2 separate regions of the Homo sapiens genome follow, and region 2 is linked to region 1. The links are contacts of gene promoters, found by promoter capture Hi-C in human tissues and cell types (Jung and others, 2019). All regions are on one chromosome and are shown on one strand. Each heading gives the region's core, a stretch centred on a gene start or on the middle of the fragment in contact. The rest is flanking DNA. Distances are from core to core; before and after follow the strand shown.

Region 1 (3,948 bases), core at 122-2,621:
AGGCTACAGGGTTCAGGCTTGGTCCTGTGGAAGGCTTGTGCCCTAGGGAGGGGCACAGTTGGGATTCTGGTTCTGGGAGGCTCCTTCCAGGGACTGACTTCCCATCCCCAAGCTGTGAGCCTGCCCATGGGGGGACACTGGTGCTGAACATGACACACTCATCAGCTCCTCAACAGCCCTCAAATTCCTTATCATTAGTCCCTTCTTACAGACGAGGCCACTGAGGCTCAGAGAAAGGACGGCTTGCCCAGGCCACACAGTGGCCAAGACAGGATTGGAACATAGATCTCTGAGTCTCCAGAGCTCTCTTGTGGACCTGTCTGCTCAGAGAATCTTCTTCCTTCCACTTCCACCCACAGGTAATAAACTTGCCTGGGTCTCCACCCAGATCCTCAAAACTCATAATTATTTCAGCTTAGATCCAAAACAAACCAGGCAGATCAGGCTGTGGTCCTGGGAAGCTGGGGATGCCATGCTGAGAGGAACAGCAGCCATGGACCCCACAAATCCCGAGCTGGCAATTCTGGTCTCCAGCAGTCCCCAACCCTTGGGCTGCGCTCCTGGAGGACCCCAAGAGGGCCACTGGCAGCCTTCGGGTTGGGGGGTGGGGTATCGCCTTTCTCCTGACTGACCCTTTCTACCGCACCATTTGCCAGATTAAAAGCCCGGGGACAGAGGCTTAACTGTCCTTTCTGGCCACTCCCTCCTCCCCCGCCCACTCCCTGCAACTGCCCCCTCAACATTACCAATGGTAGGTGGCCACCCAGAGTGACCCTGGGGTTAGGACAGTGGTAGGGGGTCTCCAGGGGTTCGCGTCTCTGGGCACCGGCCACCGCCTCACGCCACGGGGACGCTCACATCGGAGCACACACAGACAAGTTCCGCAGGCTTGGCCAGTCGCCCCGAGGGGCGCACACACTCACCCGCTAACACGCAGACCTCCCCAGTACGCTGACGCGCACAGCCTCACTACTGGGGCGCCCGTCCACACTCACCGAGACCGACGCTCCCGTGGAGACAAAGTTCAACCACGGACCCACAGGCGCGTTCAAGCCGTCCAGTTATGCGCTACACGCCGGCTCGCAACTGTGCCCCGGGGCGACAGCCGCTCCACAGCGCCCTCCCCTGCCCCGCGCCCAGTCCGCACCTGCGCCAGTCTGGCCCGCCGCTTCCCCGGGCCTCTCCCAGCGCCTTGTTCCCTCCAGACGCCCCACCCCACCTCTCGCCACTGCGCTGCGCTTCTCCTCTCAGGGTGCCGTCGCCGCCGCTCCCGGGTGCCAGTGCCCGGGTCCCGCCGCAGCCGCAGAGACCCACGTGCCTGGGAGCCCGGCTACCCACCTCCCTGCGCTGTTCCCCAACCCCGAAGCCGGGCCAGGCAGGGGGCGGGGCGGACTTTTGACTGACCCTGGCACCGCCCTCAACCCGCCCGGGTAGACACCGCGCCACCCGCTCCGGGACGCCGCCCAGCGACAAGGCCGCGGGGTCAGCGTGTCTGTACCGGTGCTGCAACGGGAGGGTCGGGCGGCGACGCTCTCACTGCCGGGCCAGAAGGAGGCCTCCCGGCTCCCTCACGCTAGAAGGGAGCTGGTTACCAGAGGTTTTCAGAGACGCCAAAGTTTTGCCAGGTCAGCCCGGTGCCTGCGTGGCCCACTGCGGGACCTTTGCGCCCAGCCACCGCGCCACCCTACCCCTGTCCCGCCCCTGCCCCAGCCCGGCTGGCCAGGAAGGGACCTACTGGGAGATACCTGCTCGGAACCCCAGGCTAAGGACGTACCTCCCTTGCTTGAAAGTGGGGGAAGGGGGTGCCTCTCTCCATTACCGTGGTTAGGAAAGCAGGGTACTCAGGATCCCGCCTCTCCCGTGCTCCCCACTTTCCCTGCCTTAATCTTATCAGCAGCTCCCTGAACTCCCCACTCTGGCCCCTTATCTTGAGCTGCTTTACCTCTCTTCTCTGTCGTCAACCCCACTCTAATGGCCTTCCCTGGTCGGGCTACCGGCTGCATGTCTGACCCGTTCGGAGACTGTGAGCTCCCGAGGGCAGGAACCAGGTCTGCCTTCTTCCTGCTGCTGTCCTAGAGGTCCTGGGAGGTGCTCAATCCTTGAAGGTGTGAATGGATGAATGAATGAGCACCCCGCCTCTCTCTCATTTCTGGTCTAGGAATCAGGAGTGTAGGTTCCTGTCTGGCTTCAGCACTGACTCTGGGAGACCTTGACCCAGTTCCATTCCCTGGCAGGGTCTTCTTTCCTGTGAAATGGAGCCAATCGCTCCGCTGGCTGGACAAGTGCAGAGGAGGCCTCTTCCTGTAGCCAAGGAACTTGCCCCGGGCCTTCGGGGCCTTGGGCCCTCTTGGGCTCCATATCAGCTGACTGGGCCTGGCTGCCAGGAAGGGTGCTGGCTGCAGCCCCACCAGGAGCAGTAGCAGAGTGGACACACAGCCCATAGTGGCTGAGCCGCCTCTGCAGTCCTGCTGGGGCCTTTGCTTGGGAGACACAAAGGCCCCTTGTCTAGCCTCCTGCGCCTATTGTCTAAGCTGGGCCACGCACCTTCCAGGGACCTAAGTATCCTCATAGCCCGAGTTATAGGGCCTAGGCCTTCAGGTTCCAGTGTGGGGAAGACCCTTTGGGCACTGGAACTCCAGCCAACCCTCTCTTTCTCTCCCCTCTTCCAAAACTTCAAACCTTATACTGTCACTGCCATTTAGCCCAGGAGAAACAAGTTTCTTTGACGCCAAGTTGAGGACCCAGGCTCGACCTTAGCCTTCAGCGGGCAAATCTGGTTGGTGGCCTGCCCAGGGCTCTGCCCCTGCTCTGGCCCAATTCCCTTACTTTACAGCTGAGGAAACTGCATTCCTGAGACATACAGCGTTTCAGCTACCACACAGGTGACTTAGTGAGGCTTGAGGAGCAGAGGAAGGGGCCTAGTCCTTGAACCCCATAGCCTTGGGTTTAGATTCCAGTCTTACCTCACCTGTCCTATGACTCCTCTCTGAGCCTGAGTTTCCTCTTTTGCAAAAGGGAGTAATACTAATCTCTCACTTGCTGGCCTGTCTTAAATTTTTTGAGAAAGGGCCTCACTCTGTCACCCAGGCCGTAGTGCAGTGGCATGATCACAGCACACTACAGTCTCTATGTCCCAGGGCCAAGGGATCCTCCCATCTCAGCCTCCCAAGTAGCTGGGAATACAGGCACATGCCACCATGCCGGGCTAATTTGTAAATTTTTTGTAGAGATGGGATCTCCCTGTGTTGACCAGGCTGGTCTCAAACTGCTGAGTCCAAGCAGTCCTCCTGCCTCGGCCTCCCAAAGTGCTGGGATTCCAGGCATGAGCCCCTGCACCCTATCCTTAAATTCTTTTTTCATGGTTTTATTCATCATCCCAAGCTGTCTGGGCTCAAGGCGTTAGTATCCCATGCAATGAGGGCCTAGAAGTTTCGTCTCCTGACATCCTCCCCAGGCAGTCCCATCGCTGGGTTTCAGAGGCCATCAAGCCCAGCAGGCTTCAAATCCCCCAACAGAGTCCCCCTTACCTGGGGCTGCCTGGGGAACTCCCATCCCACTTCAACTTGAGCACCTTTGCCTTTGTATTTTTATTTATTTACATTTCCTGGTAAGAATTTGTTGCAAGCACATGAAAGATTTTGTGGCTGAAGTAATGTAAAACCATTGATCAAACCGGAAATTGAGACACAGCCAGCGTCACACAACAGGCCATCTGAAAGGCTGGAATAGCATCGAGGGAGTCTCCCTGGAACCAAGCAGCCAAGGCAGGCTAATGGTGAAGGCCCAGGCACAGTAATGGTCCCCTGGAGGTGGGTAATGGAACCATGGGGGCGGGAGGAGGGTTCCATTAGCAGTAGCAGATCAGGAGGGGAAGGGCAAAGTTCCAGCCTCAGCTTCTCCCATGTATTAGGAGGCTTCCTGTCTCTCCAGCCCTGAGGAGGTATTTGG
Region 2 (4,033 bases), core at 1,153-3,652, 1.2 Mb after region 1:
TGGAGACAGAATCTCGCTCTGTTGCCCAGGCTGGAGTGCAGTGGCATGATCTCAGCTCACTGTAATCTCTGTCGCTTGGGTTGAAGCAGTTCTCCTGCCTCAGCCTCCTGGGCTGTGTGAGAGCTCCCCCTGCTGTCTCCCTCTCCTCATGGCTCTCTTCACACTGCCCGCTCTTCCAGTTAAGCAAGTACAGACAAGAACCACTAATCAAGAATACTAGTCCTAGCTGGGCGCAGTGGCTCCAGCCTGTAATCCCAGCACTTTGAGAGGCTGAGGTGGGTGGAGGTCAGGAGTTTGAGACCAGCCTGGCCAACATGGCGAAACCCCATCTCTACTAAAAATACAAAAATTAGCCGGGCGTGGTGGTCCATGCCTGTAATCCCAGCTACTTGGGAGGCTGAGGCAGGAGGATTGCTTGAACCCAGGAGTCAGAGGTTATAGTGAGCCGAGATCGTGCCACTGCACTCCAGCCTGGGCAACAGAGCGAGATTCTGTCTCAAACAAACAAACAAACAAACAACACTCTAGTCCCTGGGATCCTCCTCTGGGAGGCTTTTGCCATCTCAGCCTTCAGCCTAGTGGGGGAACTTCACCCTGTCACTTCAGAGCCTTGTTTCCTCCTGTTCTTTCAGTTCTTGGATGTTTTTCCCTCCCCATGGTCTTCTCTCACTCTTAACCTAGGTGTGTTCTCCAGGCTTCCTGACAGTTTAGAGTTGAGCCATTCCAGATGGTGTAATATAGCTTCCCGTTCATCTGTGCTGCCTCCGTCTCCTCTCGGCCCCTTTCCACAGAGCTTTTTTATGTTTGCAAATAGGGTGGCAGAGTGCCATCTTTTCCAGAAGAACCCCATGCCTCAAGTCCCCTCTTCCCACCCACCACACAGTTCCATCTGGATAAATGGTGTCCTGGTATCTGTCACCTGCCTCCAGGATCTGATCTGGATCTCTTCCAGATCCAGCAGAGATCAAGACTGGAAGGAATGGGGAGGTACTATGAAATGCAGCAGCAAGGAGGCAAAGATTGCTGAATACTCTGGTCCTAATACTTGCTCTTTTTCTAGCCATGGCACTGAAGAGGGACAGCAAATCTTGAAGCAGCCGGTGTCAGAGAGACTGGACTTTGTGTGCAGTTTTCTGCAGAGTAAGCACCTTTCTTATCCAGCTATGAAGAAGCTGCTTCCTCAGCTCGTGGGATTGGAGAGTCCAGAGGAACTAGTTCATGGGTGTCTGGAGGAGAAAAATTTCAAGGCTCCCCACTCTTTAACACAAAGATGAAAACAGCTGGTTCAGATCCCCTGGGTCTTGTGATGCCTTCATCAGTTGGTGTAAGAAGAGTGTCCCTTCAGTCCCAGAGCCCTTCTCGGAGATCTAGGTGGAGCCAGAAGGTTACTTTTTGGGACCTGTCACTTTTAACTCTTTGAGCACCTTAAGTTTCTGTTTCCCCGAACTTCAAGGAGACAGAAGAGAGAATGAGTCTCTTTCCCTTGCAAGAAAAACTGTTTTTCCCAGATAACTTTGAATTAATTGCTTAGGCGATAGGTGTAGGGGCAGAGGCACATTAAGGTTGATCTTGACCCCCCTCACTGCTTGTGTGACCTTTCTGGACATAGGTTCCCTATCTATAATATGGAGATAACTGCTCTTCAAGTGGATGGGTGGATTAAATAAGAACACATGCAAAGCTTCTAGTACAGTGCTTTTCAGTTCCCCTCCCCTTGTCCAGCCTTAGACCACAGAGTCCTCGTCTTTGACATGGGGAGCTAGCTGCCATCTCCACCCCTAGAGAATTATAGGAAAGGTGAGGCTTTATTTAGATAAAGTAAGGTGTTAGTAATTTGAGCCCAGACCCTCGGGCAGTATAAGAGTCACGTATCCCTAGTTGTCCTTTTCTGACTCAGCTATAGGTTTACTCTGTGACCTCAGTTGGAACAGGATTCTAAAGTGACCTGGCATCTCTGGGCTCTTCCTCTGTGGTGCTGAGAGTTGGTGAGTGGGTGGGAGAGTGCAACATCATGACCCAGAGTTGCTGTGAATTCCGAGGCTGCTTTCTTCTTCCATTATCCCTGTAGCCCTTGGATTGACCCAGGATAGAACTGACTTCAGATGGAAAATTGTAAGGCAGGGGAAAGAGGCCATAGGAGTAAGGAGGCCTACATCTCATAGCCCCACCAGAGATAGCCATTCTGCTCCCCAGATTTCAGTGTTCTGGGATCTCAGGTATGGTTTCCAGGAAGTTCACCCTGTTTTCTACGTTGTTGTCATTGCAGAAAATCGAAAACATCCCTCTTCCCCAGAATGCCTGGTATCTGCACAGAAGGTGCTAGAGGGATCAGAGCTGGAACTGGCGAAGGTACCTATGGAATACCAGACTGGGGAGGCAGGGCAGGGTTGGGGTGATGGTACCTGAGGGACCCTGCAGGGCCTTCTCTTAACCCAAGGGGAGATGATGGGTGCTTTATTTCTGGGGCTCTAGTACGTTGGAGGTAGAACCAGGCAGCCACCTGTCTTGAGACAGAGGCTAATTTAGCCCAAGGATTCTAGGAGCCCATGATCTTATGACAGAGATTATGAAACAAACAATGGTTTACTAGACCATTACTGTGGGCCTCGGTGGAGACCTGGCAGAAATCAGGTCTCATTCGGCTATCACCATATTTTTATTATAGCTCAGTCTTAAGTCATTCCCTCTGCTCTTTCTGGGTGCTGGCCTATAGAGGGTACCTAAAGCTTCACACCCAGGGTTCCATGAGTCCAGGAATTGAGCCATGCAGGAATCTTGGCGCTCAGCTTTTTGTACAGTGTACACTATCCTTAATTAAAAAAAAAAAAAAAAAGTGTTTCCTGGAGCTGTTAAGGATGGTGGCCTGGGATTGCTGAATTCCAGGACTTTTAGAAGAGTCACCGGAATAGCTCAGAGTCCCCAGAACAGCCCAGAATGGGGGCACTGAGAAGAGAGACAGCCCCACTCAGTGACTGCCTCCTGTTTGGCTTCTAGATGACCATGCTGCTCTTATACCACTCTACCATGAGCTCCAAAAGTCCCAGGGACTGGGAACAGTTTGAATATAAAATTCAGGTAAGCCCTTGTGCCTCCATGCCACCTAGCAGGCCTAGCCCATGCTTCACCTCACCTGACTTGTTTTTCTTTGAACAGCAGATACTGGACTTTTTAAAAATACAGTTATAGCAATTATTGCCATTCATCATAGAAAGTCTGGGAAACGTTGAAAAGCATGCAGGAGGAAATAACAGTTGCCGATAAACTCATTCCCAGAGTTTGCTAACTTTTTAAAGGATGTACTTTCAAGTCCTTTTTTATGTGCATATGTTTAACTGTAATGTGTTTTAGGATAATACGTAGAAATTATTCTCTGTTCCTATATGTGTTTCTGTGTGTGTGTGTTTTTTTTCCCCCACAGAACTTTCACTTCATTTATCTCATCCTTTCCTCTGGTAGGGTCATCTGGAAGAGGCCAACATAGTTATATATAAAAGCTTCCTGGCCGGGCGTGGTGGCTCACGCCTATAGTCCCAGCACTTTGGGAGGCCGAGACAGGAGGATTGCTTGAGGCCAGGAGTTCAAGATCAGCCTGGGTAACATAGCGAGACCCTGTCTCAACAAAAAATATTTTTTTTAAAAAAAATGAGCTGGGTGTGGCAGTGTGTGTCTGTAGTTCTAGCTACTTGGGGAGCTGAGGAGGAGGAGTTGACTCCAGGAGTTGGAGGTTATAGTGAGCTATGATTGTGCCACTGTACTCCAGCCTGGGTGACAGAGCAAGATCTTGTTTCTTAACAACAATAACAATAAAAGCAACTTTCTGATTGTGTTACTTTCCTTAACAGTCACTTCACTTGTGGTCAGGAGTTAAGTCAGTCAGGAACTCTGACTTCGGTACATCTTGAGGGGAGGTGGGAGGGAAGGGGACAAGTGGGGTGAACATATCTCTAGTTGAATGTTGTTGGCTGGGTCATAGGACCTCAGCTCTGAGAGGGAGAATGGGATCCAGCAGGCTCCTAGGGCATGAGGGAGCCGG

Evidence for each region. Contacts are between HindIII fragments. The study calls those that stand out against the background at their distance.
Region 2: a contact is called between a fragment that was not itself captured here and the fragment with the promoter of P2RY2 in region 1, in 1 of the 25 tissues and cell types used here (spleen).

The regions. Positions count from the first base shown.
Region 1 is chr11:73,215,704-73,219,651 of GRCh38, reverse strand. P2RY2 (purinergic receptor P2Y2) reads right to left here and starts at 1,371. Exons shown (of 3, transcript NM_002564.4): 1 at 1,220-1,371. LOC124902709 (a long non-coding RNA gene) reads left to right here and starts at 1,459. Exons shown (of 3, transcript XR_007062773.1): 1 at 1,459-1,625; 2 at 3,613-3,809. RefSeq lists enhancers at 100-818, 819-1,537 and a silencer at 1,251-1,460. The HindIII fragment of the contact is 8,220 bases long and covers 1-3,948 here.
Region 2 is chr11:72,021,381-72,025,413 of GRCh38, reverse strand. NUMA1 (nuclear mitotic apparatus protein 1) reads left to right here. Exons shown (of 27, transcript NM_006185.4): 5 at 1,061-1,140; 6 at 2,267-2,349; 7 at 2,995-3,075. Among named protein-coding and RNA genes, the nearest start is that of NUMA1-AS1, 9.1 kb to the right of the region's middle. RefSeq lists an enhancer at 1-291. The HindIII fragment of the contact is 4,192 bases long and covers 307-4,033 here.